Regions from separate parts of the Homo sapiens genome. Here region 1 is linked to region 2. Evidence: promoter capture Hi-C in 16 types of primary human blood cells and fetal thymus (Javierre and others, 2016). All regions are on one chromosome and are shown on one strand. Each heading gives the region's core, a stretch centred on a gene start or on the middle of the fragment in contact. The rest is flanking DNA. Distances are from core to core; before and after follow the strand shown.

Region 1 (6,339 bases), core at 144-2,643, 1.3 Mb before region 2:
AGAGACAAACAGTATATCATGTATTAGTTTTTGACATTTTCTCACTATATAGTTCACATGTGCAAAATATCCCTAAAAACAGGAAGACTGCTCAGATCTTCTGCATAAGTTACGTAGGCAGCAAGCTATGCACAATTTCTCCTTGTGCTAGCTCTAATTCCATTCCTTTGCTCCTCAGGAGAATATCATGCCGTCTGAAAATGGCTTGATAAATGACAGGAGGTCAGTATTTGCAGTTAAATGGCCTTAGTTCCAGTTCTGGTTCCACCACTTACTAGCTATGTGGCCTTAGATAAGTAGGTTACTTCTCTGAGCCTGTCTCCTCATTTGTAAAACAGATGGATAGGAAAGAAATGATATCTCATTTGGCGGTATAAGAATTAACAATGAGTTAATGCTGTGAAAGCATTTTACAAACTAATGTACCACATTACACACTGATCTAGATTTGAACATTTACCATCGTAATTACATTTTAGATCAATGTGCCTGACACATTATCCTTAAACATGGATAAAAATTTATTTAAAAATCATGACCATGTATAATTTTCAGTGCTCATTTTTCACTCTAAAATATTTTAAATTATATTCTGAAGCTTATGAATTTTTCTTAAAAATAAAAGCAGAACTTCCTTAATTAGGACTATGGTAGCATATATAGAGTTAGGTGAGTAGTGGACGGTCAAAAATATTTTAGTTAAAAAAAACTTGCAAGCCCATTGGGATTCAGTAATTATTCTTAAACAACTAGAAATATCAAGTAGCACAATGAATAGATTAATATGAAAGTCAAATAATATAAAGCACATGTGTGATAAATAATACTTAACTTCTGAGGCTAAAATATATACATAAAATAAGGAGTAATTTAGGTAGAAGTTTGTCCTTTTTATTCTACTGCAGCAAAGGTCCATGTGTAAAGAAAGAAGTATCTGCTAATGCTGAAGATTAATCATCATTCAAGCATTAAAAATCTTGTTATTTACTGGTTTGATGGAAAACAATATTTTTCACTGCCAAAAGCTTTCCTATTTCTATCAAATTTAGTGTTAGATATAATTAATTTTATAGGCAGGTTTTCACTTCAAGTGTCTGAATATAATTAAAAACTTACTAGAAGTAGCATTTTATATTCTAAAATAAAGTTAAGAAAATATCACAGAATCCTAATTTTTCATAGTTACATTATCTAGATCAAGCTAAAGTTTCCTAATACTTGCCTCTTGCAATCGAAAAACAACGGGGATTTTCTTTTCTGTACAGGCAGCTATGAAGTTATCAGGGAGTAACTGTCCATCTAAAAGAAACTGGTCATCTTTCCCTTGATCAATTAGTATGTCCAGCTGAGATCCTGGATAGGATTTCACAAGGTGGGTAGCATCATAAGCCTGTAAAAAGAGAAGTAACATTGAAAAATAAATTCAAAGATACTCTTCAGGATATACTATACTAGTACCAAACAGAAATTTAAAGTTATTTAAGCTCTTAGGCTGATTAAATCAGAAATATGCTTTTAAGTTGGTTCAAAATCTGACTTGCCAGGCTTTTATTTACAAGGTCTTCGGAATTCTATTTTCTAATAATAGTCTCTTCCCTACTTTCAAGCAGTCCTAGACTAGTGGCAAGAATCCCATATCTCAGGGATTCTTAAGAAAATGGCCTTTTTCCTTCTAAACCTTTAATATTCTTAATCTCCTCTTGGCTCCAGCAAGAACATGATTTTTTTTCCTTTGTAACTCCTTCCACAAATTGGAAACTAGAAGCTTCTTCTAACTCCATGATCTTTTTCCAAATATTCTCTATTTCAGATAATCTTTTTTTTTATGTCTCTTCTTTATGGCTGTAATTCCAGACATAAACACATTCAGCCTTCTTTTTTGCTGTTGAACAGCACCAAACCTCTGCTATCTACATAAGCTTTCAGAAACACCTGGTGTGAATCATCTGAATCATATCAACATCATCTCAAATTTATTCTCTGAGGAGCTGCCACTAGTTACAATTTTATGTTTTATCATCCACCTCGAAATATTCTTATTCATATATATTCATTAACCACAACTTTATACATTGACCAAGACAAACAACCACGAAAAGATTTGTCCTCTAAGTATCCTGCTTTTGAAGGTTCTATTTCCTTTCATCTTAGAGTGGGAGAGGACCTATAAAGTCTGACTAGTTAGTTCTAAATTCTATGATTTCATAATTCTACATGGTTTCCTGATTTCAATCGTAAATTAAATAATACCCTAAATACAACATAATTAAGACAGTAAAATCTACTGTCACTTGGAGAAAAGTACATATCTAGATTCCTTTTTAGGTTACCTGTACCTCTACCTCTCACCTTCACCCTCCAATTAGTTGGTCTTTTACCCAATTCTTCTATTAGACCATAAGCCCCTGGTGGATGTGAAAGGGTCACCATTTTCGTGACAAAACAGCTCAGAACCTAGCATAGACTTTGCACCAGATGAAGACTCAAAACACTGATGTACATGCAATGTCAGTTCTCAAAGGACCTAATCCTAAATCATTTCTAGCATTCTTCAAACATAGTAAAAATTCAAGCCTAAACAAAACTGTAATCTAGTTACTAAAGGATGAACCCTTTAATTAGTTAGAATTTCAGTAATCATCCTTAAATAAAATGTGTTGGAATTTCAATAATCATCCTTACATAAAATAGGGGTTCATGTAGGAATGAACCCTGAACACAGAACTATACTTTAAATACTTTAAGACAAAGAAGTTGCATTTTTTACCCATTCAAGTATTTTCTGCTTGTTAACAATACACATCATGATGAGTTCATTTGCAAAGTATTCAAACTCTTGGCAGAGTTTGTAAATGGCCCATTTCTGCACAAGAGTAACATGGCTCTCAGGAAAAAGGGTCATTTTTATTTCCACTTGAAAGCACCTGTTTGCATGCTTGAAAAAGCAATCTTGCTGTGGGAATATTCACATAAATGTACATAACAGAATATCTATTTTTAAAGACTCGTGTCTGGAATTTAAAATCGAGATCTGAAATGCTAAATTTTGAAAACAAAGTAATTTAAAAAGCCAGGCTTCTTTGCTTCTATTACACAACTGAGCACATAGTTAATAAGAGGCAAGTCTAAATTTAGTAACACAGGTTGAACATCCCTAATCCAAAAATCCAAAATCAGAAATGCTCCAAAATCTGAAACGTTTTGAGTACCCACATGACGCTTAAAGGTAATGCTCCAAGGAAATACCCATTGTAGCATTTTGAATTTTTAGATTAGGGATGCTCAACCTGTAATATATGGTATTTTTAGATTAGGGATGCTCAACCTGTAATATGTGGTATTTTTTGGTTAATTTAGAAGTGATGTTAATTTAGAAATAAAAATATAAATTAACCATTAGTAGAAAAAAAATATAGCCCCAGAATATCTGCCATGATTCAATACAATTAGAAAGTAGGGTTTTTTGTTGATTTATATATATATATATATAAAATAATATATATAATAATATATATAAAATAATATATATAATAATATATATCTCATATATTGATATATATATCGATATATATATATCTTTTGCTAATTTGTCTCAGCTCTAGAGCCCTAACATGAGCAGGGTAGGAATATAATATATGTCCAACCTTTTAAACAAACTTGAAACTTAAGAATGAGTATTAAGACAGCCATTCAGTACCTACCTTCCATTTACTTTGATCTGTTCCCAAATATCCACTAAAGGCTTTTTTGCCCCAGGGACAGAGTACAGGGTTGCAAATTGGAGCAAATGCTGACACAGACTTCAGAAACAAAAGAAATTTAAAAACAAGTTATATTTTGCTAAATTAAATATGAATAGATATTTGCAACTTACTTAAAAATATAGAAGTTACTTGCAACTTGCTTAAAAATTCTGACTTGCCATGAAAACCCTGTGAACAATTTTCCTTTTGATATATTGCTGGCTTAGATTGCAGGCCTTTCCATAATACATCTTTTGTGTATTCTATTAAGAGAGCTAATAAGTATAGTTGCTAAAATAATGCAAAACAATACATTGCAATTTAAGATACAAACAGAAGTCTATGTTCAGCGTTTCTGCTTTTTTAGCACTGAAAATTAATCTATAGTGATATAAAACAGTTCATGCTTACCTTAGTGAACATGTTACTAAATCTGACACATTTCTCTTAAACAGTACCAACAAAGCAGTGAGCAATGCATTTCAATATGACAGAATTTTTAATACAACTCTGTGTTCTATACAATGTTCTTTTTCACTGGATGAGATGCAGAGATGGGATCTCTCAACTTCAGAGTACTCATCAATGTAAATGTTTAGTGGTATCTACTAGCTTTTTTAAAGGACAAAAAAATCAACTAAGTTTGCTTTTCTACCTCAGACATGATAGACTGCCTTAAAAAATGGAAATAAAAGTGCTTACTTAGAAAGCCCACTGTCAGGCCATGAATTAATAAAACTTGATAATAAAGCGTACCAAAAACAAAATATTTGATGCCACAGAAAGAAACTGTTATGAGAAATGTTTTCATTTCTCAGTAGCACACCTAAAATAATCAAGTTCTTCCTAAGAGGAGGAAATGAATTAAACCAATTTTAAGGGCATGAACAGCCCTGTAAATTTAAAGGCAGAAGAAATTTTAAGATGCTAGTTGCTTTAACACTTCCTTATTCAACTCTTGTAACATGCTGTTCTGCACAGTATGACATACTACATATGGTAGTTATTCAAATTTGACTCTGGGAAAGGCTGAGAGTGATGTTTTTTAATCAAGCTGCATTTCAATTTTCATTAGAGGCATTAAGAACACAATTCTTAAGCTTCTACAAATCATATCTTTTACCTCAGAAAATCAAAGTCAACTTTACAAAGACATCCCTGGTAAGAATATAAATGATAGATCCTGCCACTATAACATTAATCAGTAATAATAACCTTTACAGAAAAAAAGTGTGTTCAAAACTATAGTTGGAATAAAAACAATTAAAGGAGAAGCTACATTTTATAATACTTCCAGTAGGCCAATAAGAAAGCACTCTTGCTGAATTCCTATGCGTCTGATTCTGCAGCATACACTCTATGGTCAAATTAAATACCCACCCTTCAAACACCCCAAAGTTCTCAACACTAGAAAAGTTTAGTTCCAATACTAACAATATTGTAATTTTACTCTTTGAAGGTTCCTAATATTATGTTATTCAAGAGAAATATTTATCACTAGAAGTTTAGATAATCTTACTTTGTATTTTCCAGGATTTTTCAAAGCACAGATCAGAGCTCCATGACCTCCCATGGAGTGGCCAAAAATAGACATCCTTTGGGGATCCACTGGAAAATTGGCATTTATGAGTTGGGGAAGCTAGAAAAAATTTAATAGTGTGACAAAAGATATCAAAGAAAATAAGTTCAGACATTTCAAAGTTACAGAAAATAATTACACAATCAATACTGCCAAATCATAGTCTTACAATGGTTTGAACTAGTAACAATGAAAACAAAACAAAACTAAATCCTCAGGCAGACCATGATTATTAATATATCCCTGGAAAATATATGGTACAGACTTCTTAGAAAACACTTTAGGAAGGTGATGCAGAAAGAACCTTTAAAATGCTTTTAAGTTTTGACCTAGTAATTTCACTTTTTGGAATATATTCTAAGGAAAAGTCCTTAGGGAGAAAACATTATGCACAAATATAATCAATGCAGTAATATTTATTAGGGTAAAAACATATACAAAACCATAAGTATTCTATAAGAGGAAAAAGTCAATTATGGCATATGACAGAATATTACACAATTATTAAAATCAGAATAACACTAGAAAATATTTTTATATGTAACTTAAAAAGAAGAAGAAAATAAAAAAGTTTAGAATTACGTGAAAACTAGTCATAGAAACAGTCTGGAACATACCAAAACATAAGTGTTTTGGGGGGGTAACAGAATTATGGGTAATTAAAAACTTACACTATTGTTTCTAAGTTTTTATGATATACATAGTAACAATGAAAATCATATAAAATTCAGAAAATGCATAAGCAGCATACAAATATTATTAATAGAGGTAATGCTTTACCACTTATGTTTTCTAACTAAGCCTTGGCTTATCACTATAAAATACATCCAAATGAACCAGCTGCCAGGCAAATTAAAGGTTTTTTTCATATACCATTTTCTTGGTTATTCTGGGTAGTATAAACAGGTCTCAATATAATGATTATATTCTTTAATTGTACTTAGTGTTAATTTAAATTGCAGTAAATAGAACTATAGTACTAGCAAACTTTGGAATTTTTACTAGTAACTTTTATAC
Region 2 (6,926 bases), core at 691-3,190:
CCAATCTACAGAACCTATGAATGTTGTTTTGTTACATGGCAAGGAAGAATTAAGGTTGCAAACAGAATAAAGGTTGCTAATCATCTCACTTTAAATAAGAAGATTATTCTGGGTTATCCAGTGGGCTCAGAATGATCACAGGATCCTTTAAATATGGGACAGGTAGGCAGAAGAGCATCACAGTAATGCAGAATGAGAAACACTCACCAACCAGGGGCCTGGAGCAGGACCAAGGGCGGCCTCTAAAACCTGGAAGACACAGGGGACAGATTCTCCCCTATGGCCTCCAGGAAGGAATGCAGCCCTGCTCACACCTTGATTTTAGGTGAGACCCACTTCACATTTGTGATGTACAAAACTAAGATAAATTTGTGTTGTTTTGAGCCAAGTTTGTGGTAATTTGTTACGGCAGCAACTGAAAACTAATACAGTATTAAAGAATTTGAAAAACACAATCCTTTTGAATCTACCCTAAAGATTTGGTGATAAAAACAGGCAGTTACATTATGGCACATACCACAATAAAATTTTAGCCATTAAAGTAAATCTTTCAAGAATGTATACACATGGATCAATATTCCTAGTATACGGACAAGGCAAGGTTAAAATTAGATATTGTGTTAGTCCATTCCTAAAAATAACCCTGGAGGGAAAGACATTCAAACATTGTATGTCCTTAATTCTAGATGGTGAAAATATAAGATTAATCTCCTATTTTCCAATTTTTCTAGAGATCGAAAATAATCAAAAGGAAAAAATGATGGAAAAATGGAATTCTCAGTTCATTTGAAGAATACAGATTAGCAATTAAAAAATACAGCAGTATCTCAGGAAATAAACATTATTCTCATTTTACAAAAAAGTGTATGTGAACTTTAAAAAAATCTACACTACAATATGAATTGATATTATCTCTGGGTAGAATGCTAACAATTTTATTTTCTCCTTTACTGTATTCACTAAATGTTTCACATTAAATGTTGTATTACCTTTGAAATCAGAAGATACATTGTCTAAAACTGATACATCAAGAAATAGTTGTATAAGCATATTACCTAAACACAGAGGTTACCAACAGAAATTAAAAGTGGTTAAAAATGACTCCTGGGGAACTGTAAGAAGAGGAAGGTGAAGGGAAGAAATGGTTGCTTTCCATTCTAAATCTTCACACAATCTATTCTTAAAATCAGACAAGGCTGTGGTAAATTTTTTCAATTATTAAAAAAAATTATTTCTTCTAATAGGAATAGGCCTTTGAGAACCCTATTAATTGTAATAGGTTTCAATTCAGTTAGTCACTCAAGTATTATAAAATGCAACTGGATTTACAGAAATAATTTCCTACCTACACTGACAGTATATTTAAACTAAAAAAAAAGCATACAATGTACAAACAAATTTATTTACAAAAATTACAATTACAAACTGTACAAATTGAGACAATTTCCCATGCCTCCAACAGAAGCCAAGAGCCTTTACTGTCAAATGGCAGTTTTTGTTACTTTTAAATGACACACAAAAAGAAATATGATGCCTATTCAGTCATCCACTGCCAGTTTAAAAATGCTTTTCTAAATAATTCCAAGAAGCCTATTAGTGATATGTATATGGATAATTTCCCTCAACTCTATTTCTAGAATGGCTATGTACAAATCCAGCAAAACTGGAACAGAACAGGGTAAGAAAGCACATAGCAACTGCTTTTTCAACAGTAAATTTTGACTATTCCCCTAAATATCTACCTAGTGGCTTAAAACTAAAACTATGGTCTTTGGCTTTAAAAAGAAAGTCAAAAAATTTTGACTTTTAATGACTGCACAATTCTACCAAAGCCAGTGTTTACCTGGGTATTTTTTGTCACCTGTAGTTTACATTTCCCTGCTACTGTTAAAGAAACAGAATTCTACAGTATTCAATTCTGTATATTGTCTTTTAAGGTTTTTCAATCAGACTCACTACTACTGCTTGAGGAGTCCGTTGACATAATCTCTACATCATCTTCATTTTCTTTATTATGCCCAGGAGGTTCCAACAAAAAGTCACTACTATGATTTGGTGGTAACATATTCATCGACATGTCATTTGACTGCCATGGATACTGTGGAGCAAGGACATCTGGAGAAAAAAAGAAGCATAGATAAGAACAGCTCTATCTGTAATTAATCTAGTTCTTACTTTTCCCTTTATGCAACAATTTGAAGTATTTTTTTTAATTTTACTTTTTTCTCTTCTTTTTTTGACACAGGGTCTCATTCTGTCACCCAGGCTTGAGTGCAGTGGCACGAATACATCACTGAAGCCCTGACCTAGGCTCAAGCAATCCTCCTGCCTCAGCCTCCTGAGTAACTGGGTTACAGGTATGTGCCACCATGCTTGAGTACTTTTTAAAGTTTTTGTAGAGATGAGGTCTCACTATGTTAACCAGGCTGGTCTCCAACTCCTGGGCTCAAGCTATCCTGCTACCTCAGCCTCCCAAAGTGTTGGGATTACAGGCATAAGCTATTGTGCCAATTTTTTTAAGACTAGGAAAAAAATACACATTTAGCCAAATTAATAAAAATCAAATTTATCAAGGAAAAGTTGATATTTTAGCAACTGGGGACTTTTTTAAAAAAATCATACTACTCTGTAAGAAACTATTTAGTCAGTTGACATAATTTTTCTTTTGTAAGACATTTGTAATTACAAATTTTTCCTGTATCTATGTATCTATTATATGCATATATAATACATACTTATGTATACTAGGTTATGTAGATTATTCTACATATTATAAACAAGTAATAGGTACTTTAGTATTATAATAGATTTGAATGATTTCTTGATAGAGGAACTGCTATTGTAAGTGACTCTCATCAAAGAGAGGTTGATTAGCAATGTATGCATATGAAATACCTTAAAAAAGGGCCCAAGTTACATTTAAAGTCTGTATTTCTGAAGCAAAGGGACAGAGCACATAAACAGGTATAGTTCAAGACTCAAATAAAGAAGGCAGATTTTTAAAGGGTCAAAAGAAAGAGTTATGGTATTAACTAGAAAGGTATGCCAGTTAGCCTCAAATCTACCCTTCTCTCTGGCCCCTGAAACCATTTCTCCTTTGCCAGCTGCCACAATTAAGTTTTGTCAGTAGAGGGCACAGGTGGGACTCCACTAGCAAACAAGTTTCACTTCCTGGATCAGGTGGTTTTGTCTCCTTTACTGCTGTGATGCCTGGTTGGTGTGCAGGACATTAAGTGGTGTTCACCACAGCAACTTTCGGTGGCGCCTCTAAAGGTGGTTTCCTAGCAGGTTTCACCAGAATCCCAAAGGGCAGCTTCCCAGCAAGTCTCCCTGGAACCCCAGTGGGTAATTTCCTGCTTGCCAGCTCTGGCCTCTGATGCCTCATCTAACTTCTCTGCCATGGAGTGGGCCACATTACACTGCACCCTCTCCAATGACAGCACCATGATATGAGAGTATCGGCCTTGGGATGGAGCTGGGGAAGACTGTTTTTAGGTCTGTCCCTTCCTTGGTCCAAAATGTGGCAGTGACTCCCCATATCTGTTTTTCCTGTACTTTTAAAACATGAGAAATATGAGGTGATATCCAAGGATATCACAGTTGAGTTCCCCTGGTTGTACTTTAGGTAGCTAACAAAAATGATGCATACAAAGCATTATTAATGACACAGGGACAGCCTTATGATGTAACATTAAGCAAAAAATGTATAGGGGAAAAAAGGAAACAGGCTAAAATATTTAAAGTGACTGCCTCAGAAAGGGTATATTTTTTTCCTTTTTTAAATGCCTTTTTCTACTTCCCAAATGTTCTACCACATCAAAACAAAAGTCACCTACAAACTATAAAAGATGAGGAATAATATAAAACAAATATATATAAAAATAGCACAAACCTATGAAAAACTTGAGGAAAACTGAAGCTCAGAATGAACTGGGTCTCACAGAAATACTATTTTATAAAGTTATAAAAGTTTATAAAAAGCTATTGTTATTCATTTTGTTAACTTGGGGGTTGTTCAGGAGTGTGTTCACTTTATTCCGTAAACTATCTTACTCTATTTACATAGCATGTTTCACAATTATAAAAAAGCTATGTTTAGAGCAATAATTTAAAAAGAGAGGCCAAATGCCTGAGGAAGACAGTGTAATATTTACAAATAAGAGAAAGGCAGCTTGTTCTAATTTCATACCTCCCTCAAGGAGAATCTTTAGAGCAGAATAAACCGGCAAAGAATCTAGCTATTACAATGAACTGGGTCTGAGAGGCAGGCACACTGGCTCACACCTGTAATTCCAGTACTTTGGGAGGCTGAGGCAGGTGATTGCTTGGGGTCAGGAGTTCGAGACCAGCCTGGCCAACAGAGCGAAACCCCATATCCACTAAAAATACAAAAATTAGCCAGGCCTGGTGGCACACACCTGTAATCCCAGCTACTCGGGAGGCTGAGGCACAAGAATCACTTGAACCTGGGAGCCAAGATTTCGCCAACACGCTCCAGCCTGGGTGACATAACAAGACTGTCTCAAATTTACAAAAAAAAAAAAATTGTGTCGGGAATCTCAAACTTGCTTTACCGCCAGATATTCCAACCTTGTCATCTCTGGAAAACCCTGATCTGTTTGAAAACACTCTTCGGCTTAACATTACCTGGCAATCTTCCTGCTGCAAGTGCATCTCCTGGTAAATGGCCATTCACGCCATTAGTGGAAGGATTGTTCATCTGACCCAGTAACCCACTTCTCATCTCTAAATCAGTTGGGTAGGGTCTCCGGGGGTCCCCTAAAACAATAAAGACTGCATTTAATTCAATCATATTTTAAAAAATAAGTGTTAATATGTTATTTGACATACTCATTTTCGCTGGTTCATGCTGAAAAGTTCAGGCTACATTTTCAATTTTGAAATACAGAAGTCATCTGGCCAGGTGCAGTGGCTCACGCCTGTAATCCCAGCACTTTAGGAGGACGAGGTGGGTGGATCACCTCAAGTCAGAAGTTCAAGACCAGCCTGGCCAGCATGGTGAAACCCCGTCTCTACTAAAAATAAGAAAATTAGTCAGGCGTGGTGGCACGCACCTATAATCCCAGCTACTCGGGAGGCTGAGGCAGGAGAATCGCTTGAACCCGGGAGGCAGAGGTTGCAGTGAGCTGAGATTGCACCACTGCACTCCAGCCTGGGCCACAGAGCAAGACCCTGTCTCAAAAAAAAAAAAAAAAAAAAAAGAAAGAAAGAAATATAAAAGTCACCTTATAAATTGTTATTAATAGCATATTACTTTTTAAAATACACGCATTTTAATTTCTTTTCTGAATCTTCCCAAGAATATACTATTTTCTACACTTTAAAAAAAAAGAGATGTCATTTTTTTGTAGACATTCCAGATGACAACTTAAGAAAATTATAATAATCTCAATTATTCAAACTTAACTGTATTTTCTAGCAAGAAAATGACAATGATTATGCTGCAAGGGAGAAAAAAATCATGACACTTATAAGACAGAAAGGACTGGAATGTTTAATAGAAGGACTGTCTCAATTTAAAATCTTTTTTTTTTTTTACATTTTTCATCTTTTTGTTTTACTTTTATTTTCCTCATGCCACCTTGTCTAAGATAAAACCTTTTTCTAACCAACCTCTTTGATCTTGTAATTCAGAAACTAATTCGTGTAAGTGGCAAAATAGCAGGAGCAGGTAATGTCCATCCCAAACATGAAAGCACACTAAATAGCAGTATGTGGTTGACAAAAACTTGACCAGATTTGGATTGACTTTTTGGGCACATCTCACCAACTGCAGCTTATCCATCCCCAAAATTATAGTCACCCTTAGTGCTTTCAGCATGGTAACACAGCACCTTCAGAAGTTATTTTGAAGTGGAGATAACTACTAATATTTCCCCTTCCTCCAATAAGGCTGCTACCTTACGTCTCCTGTTTTATGTTTCATCCACTGTCAATATAGTTGCAGCTTGATCCTCTCTTTTGCTGTCTAATTATCCCAGCTCTTTCCAAGCCTGTATGTTCACTGTTGGGTGCGTAGTGCTTTGTCTTTAGCATCTAAGAGAACTGGAATTGTCTTTCTCAGGCTGGAACCTTTGTGGAAATCCTAATGGCTCTAAAGAGTTTGCTTCTGGCCAGCCCTGATAAAATGGTATATAAATCCAAAGCTTTAGAAGCATCACATTATTATCTCGTACTTTAAAAAATTATCAATTTATTATTTCAAAAGACGAAAGAAACACAGTCCCTAGCAACAATGGCTTCACAGAAAACCAAATTTATAAAACCCATGGCCTATATCATTACTTATAAACCATTAAAGATGTGAAAATATGTGGCAGAGGTTTCTAAGGATAAATACATTTTAAATTAAATCTATGTCTGTACATAGTCACCTAAGAATCTTCAAAACCACATATATCTAGTATAATAAGACGAGTATGTTTACCTGGAACCCAGGTCAGTGGAGCACATACAGCATTACTTGCACTGATCCTATGTGCATACTTAATTATTTCTTCAGAGGAGATAGCACCTGAAAGAGTTTTAAGAGGACAGTATAACCTGTAGTCTAACAAACATACAAGTTTAGAAATGTATCTATCAGTTACACATCGTATTTAATTTTAAATTATCTGAAAATAAAATAATCTCAGTCACCTGCCTTCCTTAACAATACCTACATGTTTAGTATAAACTTAAATCTCCAAAAACAGGACACTAATCCAGAAAAATTAGCTGACATAAACAAATTTCGGAGATTAGCACCATAGCACTCAATAATCTCAATTATTAACTACCGTTAAATACCATTCCTCTTCTGAAAGCATAGTGAGCACAAATAAAATAGAGAAAACAGTGTTTCATTTCTCAAAGACATCCAAGCTATGAAATCAGAGCAGACAGTTCACACCACTCTGTTCGAT

Evidence for each region. The method cuts DNA at HindIII sites, captures the fragments that hold promoters and counts their contacts. A CHiCAGO score of 5 or more calls a contact.
Region 1: a contact is called between a fragment that was not itself captured here and the fragment with the promoter of MED4-AS1 in region 2, in 1 of 17 cell types (M1 macrophages). The highest score is 6.4, in M1 macrophages.

What each region holds. Positions count from the first base shown.
Region 1 is chr13:46,776,234-46,782,572 of GRCh38, forward strand. ESD (esterase D) reads right to left here. Exons shown (of 10, transcript NM_001984.2): 7 at 5,263-5,382; 8 at 3,702-3,800; 9 at 1,223-1,390. Among named protein-coding and RNA genes, the nearest start is that of ESD, 18 kb to the right of the region's middle. The HindIII fragment of the contact is 740 bases long and covers 1,024-1,763 here.
Region 2 is chr13:48,075,197-48,082,122 of GRCh38, forward strand. It overlaps MED4-AS1 (MED4 antisense RNA 1), which reads left to right and starts at 1,941. Exons shown (of 3, transcript NR_046511.1): 1 at 1,941-2,155; 2 at 2,246-2,357; 3 at 4,581-4,797. It overlaps MED4 (mediator complex subunit 4), which reads right to left. Exons shown (of 7, transcript NM_014166.4): 5 at 6,449-6,535; 6 at 4,648-4,779; 7 at 528-2,115. The coding sequence ends at 1,943. The HindIII fragment of the contact is 10,244 bases long and covers 1-6,165 here.